4 separate regions of the Homo sapiens genome follow, and regions 2, 3 and 4 are each linked to region 1. The links are contacts of gene promoters, found by promoter capture Hi-C in blood cells and fetal thymus (Javierre and others, 2016). All regions are on one chromosome and are shown on one strand. Each heading gives the region's core, a stretch centred on a gene start or on the middle of the fragment in contact. The rest is flanking DNA. Distances are from core to core; before and after follow the strand shown. Region 1 holds the start of CCDC150 (coiled-coil domain containing 150). Region 2 holds the start of ORMDL1 (ORMDL sphingolipid biosynthesis regulator 1). Region 3 holds the start of OSGEPL1-AS1 (OSGEPL1 antisense RNA 1). Region 4 overlaps WDR75 (WD repeat domain 75).

Evidence for each region. Contacts are between HindIII fragments. The CHiCAGO score rates a contact against its expected background, and 5 or more counts as called.
Region 2: a contact is called between the fragment with the promoter of ORMDL1 here and the fragment with the promoter of CCDC150 in region 1, in 4 of 17 cell types (non-activated CD4 T cells, activated CD4 T cells, total CD4 T cells and 1 more). The highest score is 13.1, in non-activated CD4 T cells.
Region 3: the fragment with the promoter of OSGEPL1-AS1 here is called in contact with the fragment with the promoter of CCDC150 in region 1 in 3 of 17 cell types (non-activated CD4 T cells, total B cells and naive CD8 T cells); the score reaches 8.0 in non-activated CD4 T cells.
Region 4: a fragment that was not itself captured here is called in contact with the fragment with the promoter of CCDC150 in region 1 in 1 of 17 cell types (non-activated CD4 T cells); the score reaches 5.8 in non-activated CD4 T cells.

The regions. Positions count from the first base shown.
Region 1 is chr2:196,638,412-196,641,111 of GRCh38, forward strand. It overlaps CCDC150 (coiled-coil domain containing 150), which reads left to right and starts at 1,304. Exons shown (of 28, transcript NM_001080539.2): 1 at 1,304-1,367. The coding sequence starts at 1,356. LOC105373823 (a long non-coding RNA gene) reads right to left here and starts at 1,274. Exons shown (of 2, transcript XR_923747.3): 1 at 985-1,274; 2 at 17-156. RefSeq lists enhancers at 816-1,035, 1,056-1,105, 1,090-1,627, 1,628-2,165. The HindIII fragment of the contact is 4,677 bases long and covers 97-2,700 here.
Region 2 is chr2:189,782,942-189,785,641 of GRCh38, forward strand. It overlaps ORMDL1 (ORMDL sphingolipid biosynthesis regulator 1), which reads right to left and starts at 1,398. Exons shown (of 5, transcript NM_016467.5): 1 at 1,328-1,398; 2 at 73-182. PMS1 (PMS1 homolog 1, mismatch repair system component) reads left to right here and starts at 1,509. Exons shown (of 13, transcript NM_000534.5): 1 at 1,509-1,652. RefSeq lists enhancers at 685-1,571, 857-936, 1,027-1,086, 1,097-1,326, 1,877-1,926 and a silencer at 1,467-1,516. The HindIII fragment of the contact is 2,480 bases long and covers 1-1,426 here.
Region 3 is chr2:189,761,349-189,764,048 of GRCh38, forward strand. It overlaps OSGEPL1-AS1 (OSGEPL1 antisense RNA 1), which reads left to right and starts at 1,432. Exons shown (of 2, transcript NR_102429.1): 1 at 1,432-1,644. It overlaps OSGEPL1 (O-sialoglycoprotein endopeptidase like 1), which reads right to left and starts at 1,444. Exons shown (of 9, transcript NM_022353.3): 1 at 1,337-1,444; 2 at 72-312. The coding sequence starts at 292. It also overlaps a transcript of ANKAR not described here and a transcript of ORMDL1 not described here. RefSeq lists enhancers at 927-1,086, 1,373-2,119. The HindIII fragment of the contact is 3,776 bases long and covers 1-1,519 here.
Region 4 is chr2:189,444,070-189,446,769 of GRCh38, forward strand. The region is part of intron 1 of WDR75 (WD repeat domain 75); the gene reads left to right. Among named protein-coding and RNA genes, the nearest start is that of WDR75, 3.9 kb to the left of the region's middle. The HindIII fragment of the contact is 711 bases long and covers 1,037-1,747 here.

The DNA of each region.
Region 1 (2,700 bases), core at 54-2,553:
TTAAAATACATTTTCATTTCCTATTAAAAGCTTTATTTGGTCCCTTTCTCTGAATAATGTATGCAGTGCTCATTTCTCTTCACCGGATCGGCTCAAAGCTTGATGAATATGGCTGTGGTTTGATGGGCAGTCTCTGCATCTCACATTGAGGCTCCGCTATGAAAAGAATTAGAATAGCAAGATCAATTGTCAGGCTAAGTAAATGAGCTCTCATCTCGGATCTGATTGCTTATATGAGAGGGCTGAAGTGATTCTTGGCTGCACTCTCAGGGAGAAGAGAGAAATGCATTTTAATTGCCCTGGCAGGGATAACAGGTGTTCTGTCCAGCTACCAAAACGCAAAGCCGCGTCTTTGCACTATAGAAGGCTTTCCCTTAAGTGAGAATACATATTCTTAAAGCAAAACAACTCAGAAACGCTGGTGTGGTGATGCACGCCTGTAATCCCAGGACTTTGGGAGGCCGAGGTGGGCGGATGGCTCGAGCCCAAAGAGACCAGCCTGAGCAATATGGTGATGACCCCGCCTCCACGAAAAAATACAAAAATTAGCCAGACGTGGTGGCGCGCGCCTGTGGTCCCAGATACTGGGGAGGCTGAGATGGGAGGATCGCTTGAGCTCGGGAGGTCGAGGCTGCAGTGAGTCGAGATCGCACCACCGTAATCCACCCTTGGCGACAGAGGAAGACCCTATCTCAAAAAAGCAAACCACCAAAAAAACCAGGGACAGCTCAATGCTCTTTTCCGTTTCATAGCTACTTACACTCAGATTTACAAATACCTATTAACTTGTAGACAGGGCAAGAAATAATTTATGCTGAAGAGACGAAAGACCTGAAAACAGATTTCTGTGTTTTACTCTCCATGTGGCCATCATGGACGAGGACGAAGAGGGACTTGATTTTTCCTTTAACGAGAAGAATGTTTAAGCTCTGAATTTTTAACCAATTTTTATGCTCGTTACTCTGCTGTAGGGTATGTATTTACCAAGATTAGCAGAACACCGCGAGTTCACCAGGCGGAGACAAGTCACTGTGAAGTGGGCAGCACAGGACCCCCCGGAGGGCAGGCGCCGGAAACTACATATCCCGGCGTGCCCCGCTCGCGAGCACAGTGGAGCCTGCCGCCATTCGGTTCACGGCGCTACGCATTCCCTGAGCGCCGCCGGATGCCGGCCTGGGTCCCGCCCAGGGCTGAGGGCCCTCCTGGGCCGGGAAAACTACAGTTCCCGACATGCCCTGCCACGGGTGCGCCTGCGTACCGGAGCTACTGCGCCGGGGAGCGGGTTGGTTTAAAATGCTGTGTTAGTTCCACGGAAACCCGCTCGCCTGCTGCAGTACGGAGCCTCAGGCGGACAGATGGACTGTAAGGTGAGGCTGCCGGGCCCCGGGCTGGTGAGGGGTGGTCGGAGGCTCGCGAGGCTTCGGCTCAGATAAGGACAGTCACCACTCCCTGGCGCCCTCTCCCTGTCCTGACGGAGTCCAGTCTCACTCCCTGGACCTCAGGGCCCTGATTTAAGGCGCTTTGGCGTTGGCTGCCGGTGAAAGCCATTTAGGAGCGAAGTTTGCATTGGCCTGGCTCCAGCTGAGGGATGGGAGATAGCCACCGAAGCCTCCAGATAAGCCCAATACCACCTTTATTTATGTGTTAAGTTGGAGTTTAATAGGTTCCTGGGAAGGCTATTTCGGCGTTAATGTTTGATTTTTGCCACCAGTTAATCCTCCCTGGCTTGCTTACCAGAATATAGGTGTCAGGAATTTGCACTTGTTCTTTACGGTTTCCGCAGTACCTGGCGCTCTTGCTAGAACGGAATAGACATTCGTTAAATTCCTGTCGAAGTATTCTCCTGTTTATTTACCACCTATAATTTCCCAGGCACTGTATTAGGCTCTAAAGATAGAAAAATGTCTATTTTTAACCCCACTTTAGAGAAGTTCGTATTAGTCCGTCTTAAATGCCCCCCAACACATGCTTCTAATTTGTTAATCTTGGCGTGCTCAGGACTAGGTCCTTTAATCCTTTGTGTTCTCTGTTATCCCGCCTTATGGTTTTCTTGAGCTCTTCAGAAATTAGTCTCCAGTCCACACCTCACCCCCAAACTTCAGATCCACAAATTCAATAATGTATTTGGTATCTTTCATGTTTTAAATTTGACATTTTAAAAACTACTCTTTATCTTTTCCACAAAACGGATTCTTCCTTAATAAGTTTGCATTGTCTCAGTGATAGCACCATCCAGGCCAAAAACCCTGTAGTAATCTTGGCTTCTTCCTTTCCCTCATATCTCATATCTAATGCATCAGCAAAAGCTATCTTTCAAGTATATCTAACCACTAACCACTTCTTACAGTAGGAATACCGCTGCTGTCACCTTGGTTCTGGCCAGCAGCATCTCTACTTCTGCTTTTGTTCTTCCACCATTTGGAGTGGGAGGGAGTCAAAATGATCCAGTTAAAAGGAAAGTTGGATAGCATTCCTCAGCTATAGACCTCCAGTGACTCTGAGAATCACTGACAGCAAAAGCCAGACTTCTACAATGGCCTTCAAGGCTCTGTGTATTCTGTTTTTTGTTTTTTTGAAACGGAGTCTCGCTCTGTCGCCCAGGCTGGAGTGCAGCAGTCTCAGCTCACTGCAAGCTCCGCCTCCTGGGTTCACACCATTCTCCTGCCTCAGCCATCCGAGTAGCTGAAACTACAGGAGCAC
Region 2 (2,700 bases), core at 148-2,647, 6.9 Mb before region 1:
GCAAAGTGAAAAGCCAAAAGCTAAATTTACCAACATAATAAATTTATATTAAAAAGAAAAAGCAGAACTCACCGAGCCAGTGTGTCAAGTAGTCAGACTCTTATATTTGACTTAATGTATCCATAAAGAATGGTCAGAGTTCAGATCACTTCTTTCTGAATACTCAATGTGGAAGGTACATGCTGTTGACATAATGTGGTGTAAAATTTACATGGTCAAGGGATAATGTTTGTTTCTCAATTTTGTGATTAAACTAGGTGAAAATAAGGAGTCTTCTGAATATTTCTCTAGTCAAATCAAAAACTTCAGTTTTCTTTCTTCTTTTTAAAAAAGGTTTTCCCTTCTCCTTTCCATTGAAGATGGACTCCAAAGGAAGAATTGATAATAGTTCTCAGTTCTTTTAATGATGGTGTTTACTTGAGACTAAGAATTGCTTAAAATAAAACTGTCCTGAAGAACACCTATCATCCGACGGAGGGGGAAAACGAGGCTAGATTATATTTGGAACAGCTGTGATTTTAAAATACACAAACGCTTGTATTACGGAGTTAGCATACAGAGAGGAATTTCTCATAACCCCTTCCAGCAAATGTTTCCGGAGTATAATGCTCCTTCCGCTCTAGAGACCCATAGAACAGGCATCAAGGGTTAAGGGGACGAAAAGTTAGTTACACTAAGACCGCTAAAGCCTCCAATTTATATGTGTAAATCTTTCGTCTAAACACCCATGATTTATCATACATTAAACTATTATGTCATACTTAGAACATGCCAACACTCAAGATAGTTTTCCCACGTTCCACAGGATGGAGGCCTGAAATTTACATCTCAGCTGGAAGGCAAAGCTGGTGCGGTACTCATCCTATTCCAACCAGAAAACCTTTTCCCAGCAGGTTTGCCGCGCTGCCCACGACTGGCAAACAATGACCTTACAGACCGTGAAGAGGCTGTTGGCTCTGCCCTCGCCGGTGCCTCCGAAGACGGCGACCCGCAGCGGCCCCTCAGGGGAGTCCCCCCTGCTAGACCGACAGCCCGAGCGCTCTGGGCCAGAGAAAACTCAGCAAAAGCCGCCGCTGCTACCACCTCAGCGCCTCCCCCAACCCGCCCCTTCCTTCTCGCGGCCGCACGTCACGTCAGGACCCTGGCAAGACAACGAGGATTTGCGTAGGGGGCGAGCCTCTGAGGCCACTTGGCTCTTACGGCCACGCAGGGCGCCGCAGATGCAGCCGGAGCCCGCTTTTCCCTCTCAGGACGACCCCTAGGCCGCCAGCAGTTCCCTACCGACGAAGGCGACTGTACAGCGTCCACCGCGTTCGTGCCCACTTACCCGCCGCCCCACTCCGGGCCGCCGGCTCGCAGCAGGACCAGCCCGGCTGCTACGGCCGCGGATACACGCCCTCAGGCCCGGCGCTGCGCAGCTTGCGGAAGCTTTCCCGGACAGACTCGCTGCCAGCGGATTGGCTGCGAGCAGCGCCAATCTCACGTTGCCCCCGGGCGAGGCGGGACTCAGTGCCGCGCTCTCTGCACCCGCTCTGCCGCGCGCGTGCGTGCTGGGTGCGGGTGCGGGTGCGGGGTTGGGCCTGCGCATCGGGTGAGACGCTGGCTGCTTGCGGCTAGTGGATGGTAATTGCCTGCCTCGCGCTAGCAGGAAGGTAGTGTGGTGTGACTAACGGGTATTTATTATATCCTCGATGGCTCGAGGGCCCCGTCCCCTCTACTCGTCCTGGTCCGGGCGCGAACGCTATAGGGCAGCTAAGGGCGCTCCCCGCGGGGCGGGAAGCGAAGCCGGGCTTGCGGGCGCGCACACGTGGAACGCGTTTTCTGAGCAGGTCTGGGCTCCGGGGTGTTCTGGCTTGGTCTTTGTTGCGTCCCATTCCCCAGACCCTTCTGGGTGGAGGACTTAAAATTTGTTTTCCAGGCAGCAGATTTAACCCATGGCAACTGTAACTCATCTTGTGTGAGTGGCGGTTTATAGTATTGTATCCTGTGGCATCATACAAGGGGTGCAAGTTAAACTCTTTAAAGTTAATCACGATTTTTGCTCTTGGCCTTCTGGGTTTATCCGTACGCCGAAGACAGGCACCTGTATTACATGCTAAGGAAATGTGAATACCAAAAATTGATCCTGAGGAAAGTCTTGATTAGGTTTTTTTGGAATCGCCTTTGAAATGTAATTTCCCTCACCTTGGCAGTGCAGAAAGTTTGTGATTTTTATTGCCGAAATAGCTTTCAACATTTTGAAATTGACTTAAGAGAATGTTGGCTGTGTATGTCTGTATCTTGCATTTCTGTTGGCTTTGTGAACCTAATTGTTTTGGATTTAGTCTGATCTTTAAATAAATGATTTCTTTGTGTTCTCTCTAATGGAAGTCTGTGAGTTCTCTGATCTTTACTTCTTTTTTAGGCACACCTGTTGTCCTTAACTGACTTTCCGGGTCATCAGCACTTCTTCAGAAGTGTTCCTTTTCCCTCCCAGCAAATATGGAAGACTGACTATCCTGATATTCCCAGACATTCTTTGCTGTGATTTGTAAGCCCGATATAAACCCTTCCATTTGGTACACATATGGTATAGAGTGCTATATTCCAGGGGCTATGCTAGCGATGTGTGATTGATATAAAACCCCTGTCCTCAAAGAACTCTGAGTCAGGAGCAACAGACAGAAACACATATTAATAGAGTAACTTGTGATGAGGTTA
Region 3 (2,700 bases), core at 182-2,681, 6.9 Mb before region 1:
TATGACAAATACAAAAGAATGATTTTACTTTTTCCAAAAAAGTGGAAATGACTAAGATAATGTCTACTTACTTTAAATGAACTTCAGTTTGGGAATGTATTGCTTCTCCCAACACATTTCCAGTTTCATCCACCACAGCAGCTGCTGTATCATCACAACTAGTTTCAATTCCCAATACTATTTTATGAAGAAATAGTGTTCCAGGATGAAAATTAAAACTTCTTAAAAATTCATAAACTTTCCTTTTTGATGGTTTAAAAAAAACTCCTGCAGTCTTAGTCAAGATTAGCATACTTACTCTATAGATAATTCCTGAAAAAGAATTACAGAAACAACTTATTATTTGCAACTGACATTAGCCAGCTTATTTTTCAATATATAGTTTTACAGAATTACAGGAAAGTTTGTAAAAGTCACCAAAAGTTTGTAAAGGCTATAGCAACATGGGAATATAAATAATATTATGAATGAATATAATGTTCTCCAAGGGGGAAAACAGGGGTCAGATATAAAATTTTTTAGTATTATTATTACTTGCATGCTGTTCCTACCAAAAGACTTACTATTAAGACAGCTAATATAAAGTACAATAATTGATAGAGTCCTCTGAAAAGTGCTATTTATTTTTTGACAGCTAAAATTAAGACAAAATGTGGATTTTCTAAAAAGAATCAAACAACAAAGGCAGATGGAACAGATAAAAATACTGTTAATGTATTCCATCTCCTAAAAACATCTTTCAAAATAAAACTGGATCATTTGGTTCAAAAACAAGAGTTAACATAAACACACACACGCCAACTGCAACCTAACACCTATTTTATCCTTAATTGCAATCTTTGGAATTAAATCTCCACTTTTTGCTACAGGTTTTGTCATAACAAGGATCTTCCCAAATCCTTTTCCCCCAAAATAATAGCAGCCCATCACTAAAGCACACTAGTATTTTCACACTGCGAAGCACCTAATTTTATGCCCCCAGATCATCCGTTCTAAAACTTTCTGGGTGTTAAAGCAGGGCCTTTCTCCACCACACTAAAGGGACACGGCATCCCAGGGATTAGAGATGAGCGACCTATTTGCAGAAGGCAGTTGCGGGCAGTGCAGCCCAGACAGACACAACCTAGAGGAATTAGATTTGCATTAACAAAATCTGGACAAGGAGGATTGTACGAAGCACTACCCTTTCGGGCCAAGAAAGCTGCAGGCTGAACCCACGTGACTTGGGTAGCGCTGGTCTCCTGTCGGCTGTAAGGCGGCGACGGGCGCAAACTGGAACCGCTTTTCCAGGTGCGCAAAAGCGTCAGTGGGGTGAAGAGTGAGCAATTTCACCCACCTTCCACTTGGGCGGCAGTAGCTAGCACTTGTCTCCTTTCCCTACTAAAGACTGTCGACTGCCCTTATCGCTGCAGGAGAAAGCCCGAACCTGGCGCCCGGAAGTGATGTCATCGGAACTGTGCAAGGTCCCGTCCAGAGCTGGCTGCTGTTCCGCTAGCGAGCGGCATGCTTAGTGAAGAAAAGCTTAAAGGCCGTCTTTGCCCAAAACGCTCTCTGTGCGCACCTGCATTTCCCCCAGATTTGCAGGTGATGAGAGTTCTGTAAAATTACACAGCTAGTGACTGATCCAGCGGAGGCCGAATACAGGTTTGTCTGACTACACAACATCAAGTTCCAAACACTAAGCTACATTAAAAAGAAATTTTTTTTTTGCCCTTGGCTGGAATTTGGTTGCTACTGTGAGAAAAGGATGGGGTAGATTATTCGTCATTCATTTTTAAGGGAACTATCATCAAATCTAAACTTAGGGGTGAGGTACCTGATACTTTCATCGGAGAAATAGGATGGAATCTAGCGGCGCCCCCTAGCAGGGTTACCAAAGAACGGAAGTGTTTCTCATCGGACAGTGTAAACCGTTTCTCCCACTTCACTAGGAAGAAAGGGGCTGGCTTATTTTTACAATTAAAAAAAAAAAAAATCGGGAGACTGAGGCAGGAGAACTGCTTGAACTGGGACCCGGGAGGCGGAGGTAGCAGTGAGCCGAGATCGCGCCACTGCACTCCAGCCTGAGCTACAGAGCGAGACTCTGTCTCAAAAAAAAAAAAAAAAAAAAAAAAAAGGCTGTGGTAAATATTCAGTTGCCTTAAACCATCCTATTTTCATAATGCATTATGTTGTCCTTCCTTACTATGTACATGAAATTCAGCATGGTATGTTTTCAAAGTCTTGCACCTGCTTTTTTTTTTTTTTTTCTTTTATTGGTTTGTGAACTTTGTTTTGAACATTGGACAGATTTATTCCAAGAGTCAGGCTTTTCCCCTGCTGGTATTTAAGATTTTAGTAAGCAAGGACCTTAGAATCCACTGTTGTACAGGGCTGGCATATATACCTGCACTTTGCACGTTGTGAAGCTCTGGGTATAAAAGATGAGTAAATCCCATAACAACATGTTGGGAAGCCACAGAGTACAGTCTAGAGGTGGATACAGATAAATAAGTAAATAATTACCAGAATATGGTTGAGGTTTTTTATTTGGAACTTATGTTTTTCAAAAATTTCATTTATGTGTAACAATAATGATAAAGTGGCACTATGTACCAGGCACCTGCTGTAGATTAATTTCTTTCAAAATCCCATGAAATAGTTTCTGTCCTCATTTTACAGGCAACTGGGCCACAGAGTTTGGGTGCTTTGGAGGTCACA
Region 4 (2,700 bases), core at 142-2,641, 7.2 Mb before region 1:
TTGGAGAACTTGGTCAAGATTTAGAGATTTTTTTTTTGTCATCTATATATAAGCTAATAATTAAAACCATTTATCTAACAAATGACAGGATTTTAATGAACTCAGCAAAGATTTGAATATTATCTACAAGGTACCACAAGGGATTGGCTGCCTTATACAAAGAGGAATAATTTTGTATTTTACCTCAAGGTGCTTATCAAGAAAGCCAAAATCATAAAAAGACAGACTTGTGGAATTTTGGCGGCTTCCTCTTGAAACTAGAACAAAAACTCTGTTCTAGGTACTTGAGTAGGTTGTTCTGAGGGGCATGTGGGTATACATGTAAGTTCCTGGTGTTCCCATATTAGATATTACTGACTCTCAGTCCAGTTCTGTTTGCATCCCATTCTGCGGCATCCCACAGTTATATGGTGCTGTGAATTATTGCACTGGGGTTGTTAGGGTAGAGAAAACTGAAACAATGAGTCATCCTTGCCTTTCACTTTCCTAAATTGCCCACAAGCTAATGTCCCAAACTCAGTATTTTTCCCTTACAGATCATTCTGAGTATTGCTGCTGTAACAATTTTCCTAAGTTGTTACTGTTATAACATTATTACTCTAACTCTTATTTCTAGTCTTGCTCTGAACTTTTTAACAGTTTTTTGTTGCCTCCTTAACTATAGCTCCTCTATATGGCTTTCAATCCCTTCTCTGATATAGCTCAACTCTTCCTACCCAACTGTTTCCTGATACTACCCATTATAGACACTTTGCTTGTCAGATAAGTACATTATCTGTGTCTTGTATATAATCATACCATTTCCTTGCTCTTGCTTATGTTGCTATTTTTTCTTCCCACCCCTTAAATCATACATCCTTCAGAGTCTAGTTTAAATCTTGGTTCCGACTTGAAACATCCCTAATTTCTTACTTCTTCACTTTCTCAACAAAGATGAATCCTATGTGACAGGTGTTGTGGTGGGTGCATTACACACCTTCCAGTCTACAAGGTTAAGGTATTATCCCTATTGAGTGAGTGCTTGCTGTGTATGCTAAGCTTGTATTTGCATGCAATGTTTCACTTAAACTCTATGAGAACGTGTTATTTACATTTTACAGTGGCTAACTGTAAGTGGAGATGTGAAGTTTAAAGAGGTTAAGTAAATTCTCCAACATCATTCAGCTAATACATAATAAAGCTGACATTCGAATCCATTTGTGTTTGACTTATTATTGTTTCTAATAAGTGAAAACACAGTGTCTCACCTCAAAGACTCACAGTCTGGTAGAGGAGAAACATAGTACACAGACAGTCTTAATGCCTTGTGGTAAGTTCTGTGATGGAGCTAAGCCCACCGTCGTGTAGAAGCACATTAGGACGGGTGCTGATCTAGAATGAGAAGATGAGGAAGGGCTTCCGGGAGAAAATTCTGAGCTGAATCTTAAAGCAGTAGTCAAGAGTTCTGAGAAATGGGAAAGACTGAAAAACTGTCACTGATTGGAAGGTTCTGAGAAGATATGACAACTAAGGTGGTATGCTGGACTGGGGTCTAGGAACATAAAAAAGACATTAATGGAAAAAGTGAAGAGCTCCAAATAAATTATGTAGTCAATAGTCATGTACCAGTGTTAATATCTTAGTTTTGACTAACATGCTGTGCTTATGTAAAGTGCTAACATTTGTGGAAGCTAGGTGAAGCGTATGCAGGAACTCTGTAATTCTTCTGTAAATCTAAAATTATTTCAAAATTAAAAGTTAAAAAATAAGCTTACTCTTAGGAAATAAAAAAGAAGTAATTAGAAAACGTGTTCTATGTAGATAGCAGAGAGTGCAAAACCATGGAGAGAAAGTTGACTTTGAAGGGTTGCGTTTAAGTAATTGAAGCCATTGTTCTATGCTGAGAAACAAGAAGAGAGGATATTCCTTTTTTCTGAGGAAGCTTATCAGAATCAATTAGGGAAAGTTTTCTTGGCCAACAGTAGCCCCCTACCCACCACTGTCTCAAGGAAGCCATATCTAAAGGACCTCTTCATATTGATAGGGTGTGTCTGGGGGATGGGGGAAATTGTTGGAGTTATGAACTATTTTAATAGAGCACAGTGTTAAGTGAAAAAGTAGTTCAAGTTAGACTGGGATCAGACTACCAAAGCCTTAAGAATTTAGATCATTTCCTAAAGTCAGAGGGAAAACAGTGAAGGATTTTAGCTTTATCTGAGCAAGTAATATGGTCAAATTTGCAAAATTAGTCTGGTGTGACTGTGAAAGCTGCATTGAAGGACTGTACCTGGAGACTGTAGGAAGCCCTGAAGAGTGGCCCAGGCTGGAGATGTTAAGCTTCTGAACTGAAGTACTCATGGGAATGGAGAAGAGGCTCCAGCCAAAGGGCAGGTTATATATCGCAAATGCTTTGTTGCTCATACATTCTTGATCTTATACCATTTCATACAACCATGCCTCCTGGCTGACAGCACTTACAAGAGACCATTGATTATAAGATGCATTCTAATTTCAAAGAGATGAACAAGTGAAAATCAAGTGTCTTGAACTAATAAAATAGGATAGTAGTGGTCCCAGTTTGCAACAAATTTAGTGTGTTGTAATACAGTAGCTCTCCCTTGTCCACAGAGGATATGTTCCAGGACCCTCAGTGGATGCCTAGAACCACAGGTAATACCAGACACTCTATATAGTAAATGTTTTCCTATACATACATACCTA